Regions from separate parts of the Homo sapiens genome. Here region 2 is linked to region 1. The links are contacts of gene promoters, found by promoter capture Hi-C in blood cells and fetal thymus (Javierre and others, 2016). All regions are on one chromosome and are shown on one strand. The core of a region is centred on a gene start or on the middle of the fragment in contact, and the rest is flanking DNA. Distances in the headings are between cores, read along the strand shown. Region 1 holds the start of FOXB2 (forkhead box B2). Region 2 has its middle 11 kb from the start of GCNT1.

Region 1 (5,831 bases), core at 23-2,522:
AGAAGGCAGTGTCCTGTTCCCCCTCCACCGTGCTTGGTGGCCCGGGTGGGGCGCAGCTGCGGGAAATGCACCCGGAGCTGTGCCCCCTCCCGGCGAACAGCCTGCGCCACCCGCCGCACCGGGAGGTGGCTGGGGGCTGCCGAGCGAGTGGTGAACGCGATGGGTGGAGAGCGCCCGAAACGAGGTGGAAAAGGGGGCGGGGGCGAGGCACGGCGCCTTCTTGCCCCTTCTTCAGCTACAGACGCGGCGGCGGCGGCTGAGTCCCTCAGCCTCGGTCATGTGATAGTCTCGAAGCGCTAGCTGCGGGGGTCTCGGCGTCTCGGGGACCATTACAAAACGCAGCCAGGAGAGCGCGTCGCTGCCACTGCCGTCGCCTCTCCTCCTCAAGACAAGCCCGGGAGAAAGGCGGCAGCTGCGGCGCGGACGGCTGAGCCTCCCCGGCCAGCACTCACCCAGCATTCGCAGACGCCCTCTCCAGCCCGCCGCTCGCTCCCAGAGTCCTGCGCCCCACACTCCTCAGCAGAACCTGCGGGCGCTGCCGCTTCAGAAACCACCAAAGTTTTTTCTCCTCAGCGACAGCCTAGGGCTGCGCGTCTCTTCTAACCCCGGCGACGCTGCGAGCCTCGGAGAAAAGAGAGGCGCCCTAGAAGCCAATCTTCTCTCTCCTTACCCTGATTTTTCACTCCAGGAAAAGGAGAACTCCAGCGCGGTCTGGCTAAGTGCCTGGCCAGGGGCCTGCGTCCAGGGCACTGGAAGTCCTGCTGTCACTGGCCTCCAGGACAGCAGGCGCAAACTCAGATTTAAAGGGCCAGAGTCTCTACTGCCCAGACCTTCCTCCCAGCCATCTTGGTCTGGGTTTCCCTCGGACCTAGAAAAAGCAAAGAGGCCGGGAGGAAACACGGCCCCTTGCCACTCTCCTCTGCAGCCAGCTCCAGCACTCAGTCTTTGGCCACCCGGGGGAAGACGCAGAGAAGGCGGCGGTAAACCTGGTGCACTCCGCCCGCGACTGTGCGCGCCAGTCGGCAACCGTCGGGGCCAGAAGTTGCCAGCTTCCGAGAGCTGAGTAGGCCCGAAAGGCCAAGGTCGGAGACACCAGGCAATTCGGAGAAGGCAGGAGAGAGAAGCAGAGAGGGCCTGGAGGGCGAGAGGGCAAAGTGGCGGGACTGGAGGGGCCGAGTGGGAATTAGTGGGGGCAGCCAGGCCCCAGGAACGGAGTGCGGAGAGATTCTGTGGTCCAGTGCGGGCCGGAGGGCGGTGGAGGAGCCGGGGGCGATGCCGCGGCCGGGGAAGAGCTCGTACAGCGACCAAAAACCGCCCTACTCTTACATCTCGCTGACCGCCATGGCAATCCAGCACTCGGCCGAGAAGATGCTGCCGCTGAGCGACATCTACAAGTTCATCATGGAGCGCTTCCCCTACTACCGCGAGCACACACAGCGCTGGCAGAACAGCCTGCGCCACAACCTCTCCTTCAACGACTGCTTCATCAAGATTCCGCGGAGGCCCGACCAGCCTGGCAAGGGTAGCTTCTGGGCGCTGCACCCCGACTGCGGGGACATGTTCGAGAACGGCAGCTTCCTGCGGCGTCGCAAGCGCTTCAAGGTGCTGCGCGCCGACCATACTCACTTGCACGCGGGAAGCACCAAGAGCGCGCCGGGCGCCGGTCCGGGAGGGCACCTTCACCCCCATCACCACCACCACCCCCACCACCACCATCATCACCACGCTGCCGCACACCACCACCATCACCACCACCCACCCCAGCCGCCGCCGCCGCCGCCCCCGCCGCCGCCGCACATGGTACACTATTTCCATCAGCAACCGCCTACTGCTCCGCAGCCGCCTCCGCACCTCCCGTCACAGCCCCCGCAGCAACCGCCCCAGCAGTCGCAGCCTCAGCAGCCGTCTCACCCCGGCAAGATGCAGGAGGCGGCGGCCGTGGCGGCGGCGGCGGCGGCGGCCGCGGCAGCCGCGGTGGGCAGCGTGGGACGCCTGTCTCAGTTCCCACCCTACGGGCTGGGCTCGGCCGCCGCCGCTGCCGCCGCGGCCGCGGCGTCCACGTCAGGCTTCAAGCACCCCTTTGCCATTGAGAACATTATTGGCCGGGACTACAAGGGCGTGCTGCAGGCTGGAGGGCTGCCCTTGGCGTCCGTCATGCACCACCTGGGCTACCCCGTGCCCGGCCAGCTTGGCAACGTCGTCAGCTCCGTGTGGCCGCACGTTGGCGTCATGGATTCGGTGGCCGCCGCCGCGGCCGCCGCAGCCGCAGCCGGAGTCCCTGTAGGCCCGGAGTATGGGGCCTTCGGGGTCCCGGTCAAGTCCCTGTGCCACTCGGCAAGCCAGAGCCTGCCTGCCATGCCGGTGCCCATCAAGCCCACGCCTGCGCTGCCGCCCGTGTCCGCGCTGCAGCCGGGGCTCACTGTCCCCGCGGCTTCGCAGCAGCCTCCGGCGCCATCCACCGTGTGCTCCGCGGCCGCGGCCTCGCCCGTTGCCTCTCTGCTGGAGCCCACAGCCCCTACCTCGGCCGAAAGCAAGGGCGGCTCCTTGCACTCGGTGCTAGTGCACTCCTAGGGGACCCGGCGGGCGTGGGGAGACCAGCGGGGTGAGAGACGCCGGGCCCGGAACCGCCCAAACCACCCGACGGGGAGAGGGCGCCCTGGTCAGGCCGGGCAGAGCTGGCGAGTCTCAGCCTTTGCTGGAACGGAAGGTATTTAAATAGACGAACAACCCCGAAAAGTGGATTCTCCAGTGGTCTGAATAAATATAACCTTCCTGGTGTCTGTGTTTATACTATGTTGTACAATCAGATTAATGAAAGCCAATTTTCAGGTAAGAGTTTCTATTGTAATTAATATAAATCCATAAGTTATGGGGGGAGGGAACGAAGGAGGTTAGGAAAGCCTCATTCGCTGGTAAATTGGAAGTCGATTCTGACCCTTATTCCTGGGAGCAGAAGCTGGCAGAGCTAAACCTCCCGCGAAGAATCCAACAGAGAGTGACGCTGAAACGGATCTCAGCCACCACGTTTCTCTCTGCTGGTCGCATCCTCGGCGGTCGCCTCTCGTGAACATTCAAGACAAAACTGCCGTCCACTAAGGAAATTTCGTTTTATTTAAGAAGGAAAAGAGGAAGCGTTTGATACCGTTATTTTCCTAGTCAGCTAAATGGGCAAGGAAACGGTGTCATGAATAAAGTCGCTTTGGAGGGGGAAGGGGAGGAGAGGAGGCAGCGGGAACCCCACGAAATATCTTTGGGAAACAGCTAAGGTTCTTGGCTCTGACCTGGGGGTCAAGAAGGATAGGAGGAACCTCTAGAGCAATTAGTTTGTACAAAAGAGAATGGCAGCAGCTTAAAGGGTAAAGCCCCAAATTCCAAAAGTTGGGAAACACAACCAAAGGGAGACAATACAGGCGACTTTCCACCTGCAACTTGTTTGGGTATCAGTCGGATGAGAGCCCAAGAATAATGTGAATTCCCACGATCCTTTCTATTTGGAATTTTAAGGAAACAAATCACTTGTATAGCGGGATTTTGTTTCCCTAACTTACGAATGCAGGAAAAACTCGGCACATCACTCGACAATATTGCTCTTAACGCTTGCAGAAACGTTCCATGGCTGTTCCCTTCCAGTCTCCTCGGACGGAAGCAAGGGGACCACCCAGTCACCTTTGCACGCTGCGGCTGTTTTTGTATTCCGTGTGCTGTTTGAGCGCTTATGTCTTTCAGGCGAATTAATTCTTCAGTTTCAATTCGTGAATGGGAAAGAAACTTGCCTTGTCGCTCTTGCCCTTCCCCCCTCTTGAGCCCCAGGGAATAGCACTTTACTCGCGACACAATTTTGGGAATGGAGGGGGGCAGAGTGGGGAGAAATCCGCTTTGCCCTTTGGCTCTAAGTCACCTCCGCCTCTTGTCCGCGCCGCGTTCGGGTTGTGACTTTGTTTATGTCTGCTGGTGTTGTACGCGGTGTTCTCTATTAAAGCTTCTCTCTGGATATCTATGCTAGCCCCGTGTGAAGGTGTTTCAGTTCTCCAAGGATGAGGCCGTGGTTTGAGTGCCCACAGTTAGGTTAGGGTACTTTGCAAATCCTTCCCCTCCCTCTTATTTCTTAACTTCAGAACTTCAAAGGGGTGAGTACACGGGCGAGCCACCAGTAAGCACCGATTTCCTTCATTGCTCCTTTCAGCCTTTGGCACAATCATCTCTTTTACTATCTATTATTATTAGTAGTAGTATTTTAGAGACAAGATCCCACTATGTTTACCAGGCTGGTCTCGAACTTCCGATCTCAAACAATCGTCCCATCTGGGCCTCCCAAAGTGCTAGGATTACAGGCGTGAGCCATCACGCCCGGCCACCACCTATTTTTAATATGTCCGTTTCCTAATTGAACTTAAGTCCACCACCATGGTAGAGACTGAATTAGCAAAAACCCGCAACAGTGCGTTTTTCCTGTCACCACTATCCGTCACCTCTCTCCCATTTTGAGGTCCTCGACTACCATCTAAGGCCAGGAACTCGGTGTCAGCGGGGTGGGTGCCCGACGGCGCCCCCTTAAGTCTGCGGTCCTGGACGGAGGCAGCCGGGTTGGCGCCGGGACACTGCCGCTGCCGCATCAACTAGGCAAGCGCGCCCAGCCACCGCCGCCTAGAAGACCTGTTGCGCGCCGACACCGCGCCTCGCGGGAGGCCACAGCCTGGGGCCTGGGACCGCAGAGTTCTTGGTGGGTGAAAGCCGGCGGCCAAGCTGCTCGAGCTGCGGGAAGGGAACCCTTGGGCAGCGGCTGCTGCAGAGCTGCTCTGGGAGTGGGCCAGGAGGCCCCGGCAGGGTGCGGCGCCTCCGCTGGGGCCTGGGAAGCCGCGTCCCGGCCTCCGCCCTCCACCCTTTAGCACAGGTCTACTTTGAACCAGCTTCCGTGTGCCCAGCCAGGCCAACGAAAGTCACCTCTGACCTTTCATCAGAATAAAATAAAAAGCCAAAAGACCACCCATGCACAGAATGACAATGGCAGGGGCAGGAATGGGGAGGAAGTTAGGTTACATCTTAAAACTAGGTGTTTCAACGAATCCCTTATTTACAAATCCCATTGCGGCGTGCCTCAAAGTTTTGACTTCGCCTGGGAGACATTTCTTAGGCCAGAAGTTTTGTTTTGGGGGCTCAAACAATTCGGGAGTATATCCCATTCTTCCAGCTTGAGACTGCCACGTTTCCTGTGAGGTTTTCCTCTCTGTTATTCTGGGACTATTGAAAGAGAAAAGAAAGAAGGCGGAGGGGACCCTGACACGGGAGTTATAAATCTGGGGGAACTTTGGGGTCTGGCTTCCTTGTCCATCTCCAGGTGATCTGAAGCCCCGGCCCCAACCTAGTTTAGCAGCAGCGAGTTACCCGGCCAGAAGAAGGGCCTGGGATCCCAGGGGTTTCTTCAAAGCACCTCCTCTCTCTTTCTCACCTGCCTGAAAGGCCCAGTGTGCTTTTTAGGGGTGCCCTCGGTCCTGCTTTCAGGAGAGAGGTGAGGCCCAAAGCGACCTGCGGCGCCGGGTGGGCTGGCTCAAGGGTCAGCCTCTCCAGAAAGAGAGGAAGCTGTGGGCCATGAAGCTTCCCGGCACCCAGCCCCTGCCGTGGAACCCCCTCCTGCATCAGTGAGGTAAACACAGTGGTTTGGTTTGGTTTTCACAGTAAGGAGAAGGAGAGAAAGAGCAGAGATGAGGAGGCACAGTTTTCATCCAGAAGGGAACCTTGGTTCACAAAGGAAGCTGTGAACGAAGTGGAGACTGGAGAAGGTGGGGGGGGTTCGTGTAAATAAACAAGGGGGCGGGGCTTTTCTGCCAAGGCCC
Region 2 (5,459 bases), core at 1,495-3,994, 570 kb before region 1:
GCTCGGATGATGTTCTCAAGTATAACATCAGAGGATGTTATACCTGGAATGAGGATCAGGTGCCCCAGTGGAAGGGTTGGCTTTACTAGGAATATAGACACATGTATCTCTCATTATCACTGTATGAAAAGATGTGGTACCTTACACATGAGAGCAATGTAAAGTTTAAACTCTTTGTTTCAGGTTTTCCTTTCCTTATTTATTTATTTATTTTTTTGACAGTCTCACTCTTTCACCCAGGCTGGAGTGCAGTGGCTCAGTCTCGGCTCACTGCAAACTCCACCTCTTGGGCTCAAGCGATTCTTGTCCCTCAGCCTCCCGAGTAGCTGGGATTACAGTCATGTACCACCAAGCCCAGCTAATTTTTGTATTTCTTTTTTGGTAGAGATGGGGTTTCAACATGTTGGCCAGGCTGGTCTCGAACTCCCGAGCTCAAGCGATCCTCCCGCCTTGGCCTCCCTCAGTTTTTACTTATTAGAATTGGCAAAGATAAAAACTGTGGCTAGGTGGGGTGGCTCACACCTGTAATCCCAGCAATCTGGGAGGCCAAGGTGGAAGGAATGCTTGAGGTCAGGAGTTCGGGACCAGCCTGGACAACATGGTGAGACTCCTGTCTCTATAAAAAATAGAAAATACGAAAATTAGCCAGACATGGTGGTGTGTGCCTGTTCCAGCTACTCAAGAGGCTGAGGAGGGAGGATCTCTTAAGCCCAGAAGTTTGAAGCTGCAGTGAGCTGTGGTCAATTACACCACTGGACTCCAGCCTGGGCAACAGAGCAAGACCCCATTTCCTAAATAAATCAATAAATATTATTTTTAAAACCTGTGATAATTTGCTCTGTTGGTGAGTGTGTGGGGGAAACAGGAAGTCACACATTGCTGGTGAGAATGTAAATTGGAACAATTTCTCTGTGGAAGACATGAAGAGTCATCAGGAAGCTTAAGGCCTGGGAGTTCCTAGGGGATCATCTATCTAGAAAATTTACCCTGGGAAACTGACCTTCAAGTCTCCCTTGCAGAGATTATGCAGGAATGCACTGGAGTGACTCCAGTGCCCTTCTCTGGTCAGGAACATAGCCAGGGTCTCCAGAACATATAGAGGGTGTAAGACAAGGAGAGTTTTTGCAGAAGCTGATGGGAGCCAGCACACAGCACCCAGGGAAGTTTGCCCTTGTGGAAAAGACGGCTGCCAAAACTCCCGCTCCATGCAATCTTCTTAGAGTTTAAATTCTCCTATCCTTTATCAAGGTCTAAGGAACTTGTTTCTTTTGCCTGTGTCTGATGGTATCTATTGCCAATCATCTTCCCCCACACAGAGGGTGAGACCTATCAACTTTTTAAATGCACATACATTTTGACCAAGCAATACCACTTACGGCAATTAATACTACACATATGTTTTATATATGTGTGAAGACATTCACTGTAGCATTGTTTATAATAGCAAAAAACTGGAAACAACTGGAATGGCCATTAGGGAACTATTTGAATATCATGGCATAGCCCCGTACTGGATAGACACTGAAAAGAACAAAGAGGCTTTATATAAACTAATATGGAATGATTTTCCAAACGTGTTAAGTGAGAAGAAGCAAAGTAAAGAACATATATGGGCCAAGCATAGTGGCTTGGTGTTTACATACATTAGATGTTAGAGGTACATACTAAAGAGGCAGTTTAGGCTGGGCACAGTGGCTCATGCCTGTAATCCCAGCACTTTGGGAGGCTGAGACGGGCAGATCACTCGAGTCCAGGAGTTTGAGGCCAACGTGGCCAACATGGTGATACCTCATCTCTACAAAAAATACAAAAATTAACTGGGCATGGTAGCGTCCACCTGTAATCCCAGCTACTTGGGAGGCTGAGGTAGGAGGATTGTCTGAGCCCAGGAGATTGAGGCTGCAGTGAGCTGGGAGCGTGCCACTGCACTACATCCTGGGCAGAGTGAAACCCTGTGTCAAAAAAAAAAAAAAAAAAAAAAAAAAAAAGAACAGATATGGATGGTATGTGGATATTGCTGAATTGCTTCTTCCTTTTCTTTTTTTCTTTTTCTTCTTTTTCTTTTTTGGAGACAGATCTCACTCTCACCCAGGCTGGAGTGCAGTGGCTTGATCACCACTCACTGCAGCCTCAACCTCCCGGGCTCAGGCAATCCTTCCACTTTAGCCTCCTTAATAGCTGGGACCATAGGTGTGCACCACCACGCCCCAGCTAATTTTTATTTTTATTTTTTTGTAGAGAGAGGTTTCACCATGTTGCCCAGGCTGGTCTTAAACTCCTGGGCTTAAGCGATCGGGCTGCCTCAGCCTCCCAAAGTGCTGGGATTACAGGCATGAGCCACTGTGCCCAGCCTAAACTGCCTCTTTAGTATATACCTCTAACATCTAATGTATGTAAACACTAGGACTGATTTTCACCCTATTTCTTAACTTTTTTATAGTTATACATGTGATTTTGCACACTACCACCAGAGGGGGCCTCTGCCACACTTCACGCAATATTTACAAGTCAGTATGGAGGATGTTTATTAAATAATTTTTATATCTAGAACATTCTTGTTCATTTAGCATAGGCATTTTGGTGCTCAGCTTTAAAAAAACTCTGTGAGCCCCCTGGCTCATCCGTCTTCTTTAGCATGTCAGTCCACAATCCCTGTGTCCAGTACGCCCTGACCCTGTCATCTTCCTTTGCTGTGCTGGATTCCTGAAACTGAAAATGCCTCACAACTTCTATGCACTCTTACCCTCAAAAGAGTGCATTTAGTGGCATGGCTGTGCCAGCCGTCTTTGTCCAGATGGCTTCCAGATAGGAATCACTGAGTCCAGGAATACTTTGAGAAGCCTGGAGAGCCTCTACTCTGAAAGTTTATCATCACTGCAAACTCAGCGAGTCCAGATTTTGCTCAACACATGCTGTCTGCTTTCTGTTTACCCCTCTAGTCTTTACTAACAGACACTTTATATATATATATACACACAGCCAGGCGCGGTGGCTCGCGCCTGTAATCCAAGCACTCTGGGAGCCCGAGGCAGGCGGATTACTTAAGCCCAGGAGTTTGAGACCAGCCTGGGCAACATGGTGAAACCCTATCTCTACAAAAAATACAAAAATTAGCCAGGTGTGGTGGCACGTACCTGTAGTCCCAGGTACTTGGGAGGCTGAGGTGGGAGGATGGCTTGAGCCCAGAAGACTGAGGCTACAGTGAGCTGTGATCATGCCACTGCACTCCAGCCTGGGTTGCAGAGTACGACCCCACCTCAAAACAACAACAGCAGCAAAAAAATCTTATTGAGGCATGGTTTAATAAAATATAGCTGTTTAGGTGTATAGTTCCATGACTTCTGACCAACCTACTAACCCAGGCAATTATTACCACAATCAAGATAAAGAACATTTCTATCACCCCAAAAAGCAAATGCCCTCCTCTCCCCACACTCAGCCCCAGCAACAACTGCTCTCCTTTCTGTCACTATAGATTAGATTTGCCTCTTCCAGAATTTCAGATACATAAACATGAATCAAACGGTCTGTACTCTTTCGTGTTTGGCATCTTTATCTCCACATAAGGTCTGGAGATTCATCCATGTTGAAGTGTGAATCAATTTTGCTTTCTTAAATGTCATTCCATTATTTTAATATGATATGCTGCAATTTGTTGATCCATTCAGACAGGTACTTCTTTTAACTTGTTTTTGCTGGTAAACACCCTGATGGGCATCTGCTCACTGTACATGTCATTTTCTTTTGGACAGAAATGCTAAATTTACTATTATTTGTTCATTTATTTTATGTTTTTCCAAAATGGAAACATCTTTCTGAAACAATGGGAAAGGGATCAGAATATGCCACCCCAGGCTGGGCATGGTGGCAGGGCCTATAATCCCAGCATTTTGGGAGGCTGAAGTGAGAAGATCCCTTGAGGCCAGGAGTTTGAGACCAGCCTGGGCAATAAAGCAAGACCCTGTCTCTACCAAAAACAAAATAAAATAAATTAGCGGGGCGGGGTAGTGTGTACCTGTAGTCCTAGCTACTTGGTTCAAGATGACAGTGAGGTATGATCACACTACCACACTCCAGCCTGGGCAACAACAAACAAGACCCTGTCTCTATAAAAAACAACAAAAAAAAAAACAAGCAAATAAAATGATAATAGTAAAAGTAAAAAAGAATGTGCCACCTCAAAACATGCCATATTGGCATAAGGATTATTTTGAGCTAAAGGCAACTGAGAAACAGCAGACACAAGCAAAACTCTTTGCCCTCTCTCTTTCTACCTACAAACGTTTGCCTAATTTCCCTTTGCAAAGGTGATGCCCTCTCCCATACCAGAATAAGGTGAACAATTCATCTGCATAACACACCTCACTAAACAAGCCTTAATTACCATGCCTTTCCCAGTTACCTTCCCACAATTTACCCACACCAGAGAAGCGCAGCCTCTCCCCATTTCCCTTGTCTAGTAGCTTCCCACACTTTATCATCCTCTGTTAAAATGCTGTATAAGCTCCTGGGTCTAAGCACCTCTTTGGGATTTTCACTTTTTTTCTGTGAAGCTTACATATGCAAACAAAATAAACCTTTTCGTTTTTGTTTGTTTTGTTTTGTTTTTGAGACAGAGTCTCACCCTGTCACCCAGGCTGGAGTGCAATGGTGTGATCTCGGCTCACTGCAACCTCTGCCTCCTGGGCTCAAGTGATTCTCATGCCTCAGCCTCCCAAGTAGCTAGAATTACAGACGCCCAGCTAATTTTTTGTATTTTTTGTAGAGACAGGTTTTCGCCGTTTTGGCCAGGCTGGTCTCAAACTCCTGACCTCAAGTGATCCACCAGCCTCAGCCTCCCAAAGTGCTGGGATTACAGGTGTGAGCCACTGCGCCCGGCCCTATTCGCCTCTTTTTATAAATTATATGTAACTGATGGTGTGTAAATTCTGTCCTGTCTGGCAATAATTTAATTGGTTCCCGCCATCCCCACCCTATGAAAATACCAGTTTTGTTTCCATTTGCAATTCATCTTAACATTCCTTTACTCCAGATAAATCTGTGCTTTTTGACTTTTCCTTTGAAATGTTTATAACGTACATCTGATTCCCTTATAGCATATGCGTAAATTCCTTAACAGATGTGCACTTTTATATTTGTATGAGTCATGATTTTATCTTTCTCTGAAAATTATTTTTTAACAACCCTTACATTGTTTACAGTGTTTCGATTCTGAAATCTTTGTGTATTTGTAAAATTTCCTACATAGGATAAATTCCTAGATGAATAGTTGTCCATAAGTATCCATGTTGTCCAAATGCCTTCTAGAAAGTTTGTAGAAATCTCTACAACAGAGAGCAGCACAGGAGTCTGTATTCCTACACCTTCATCTATATTATGTTTATCAATCTTTTTCAACTTTGCCAATCTGATAGGTAAAAAGTGATTTGTAGTTTTAATTTGCTTTTCTTCAATTCCTA

The links. The method cuts DNA at HindIII sites, captures the fragments that hold promoters and counts their contacts. A CHiCAGO score of 5 or more calls a contact.
Region 2: a contact is called between a fragment that was not itself captured here and the fragment with the promoter of FOXB2 in region 1, in 1 of 17 cell types (non-activated CD4 T cells). The highest score is 5.9, in non-activated CD4 T cells.

Annotation. Positions count from the first base shown.
Region 1 is chr9:77,018,383-77,024,213 of GRCh38, forward strand. It overlaps FOXB2 (forkhead box B2), which reads left to right and starts at 1,273. Exons shown (of 1, transcript NM_001013735.1): 1 at 1,273-2,571. The coding sequence starts at 1,273. The coding sequence ends at 2,571. The HindIII fragment of the contact is 5,221 bases long and covers 1-3,977 here.
Region 2 is chr9:76,445,193-76,450,651 of GRCh38, forward strand. It overlaps a transcript of GCNT1 not described here. Among named protein-coding and RNA genes, the nearest start is that of GCNT1, 11 kb to the right of the region's middle. The HindIII fragment of the contact is 3,614 bases long and covers 938-4,551 here.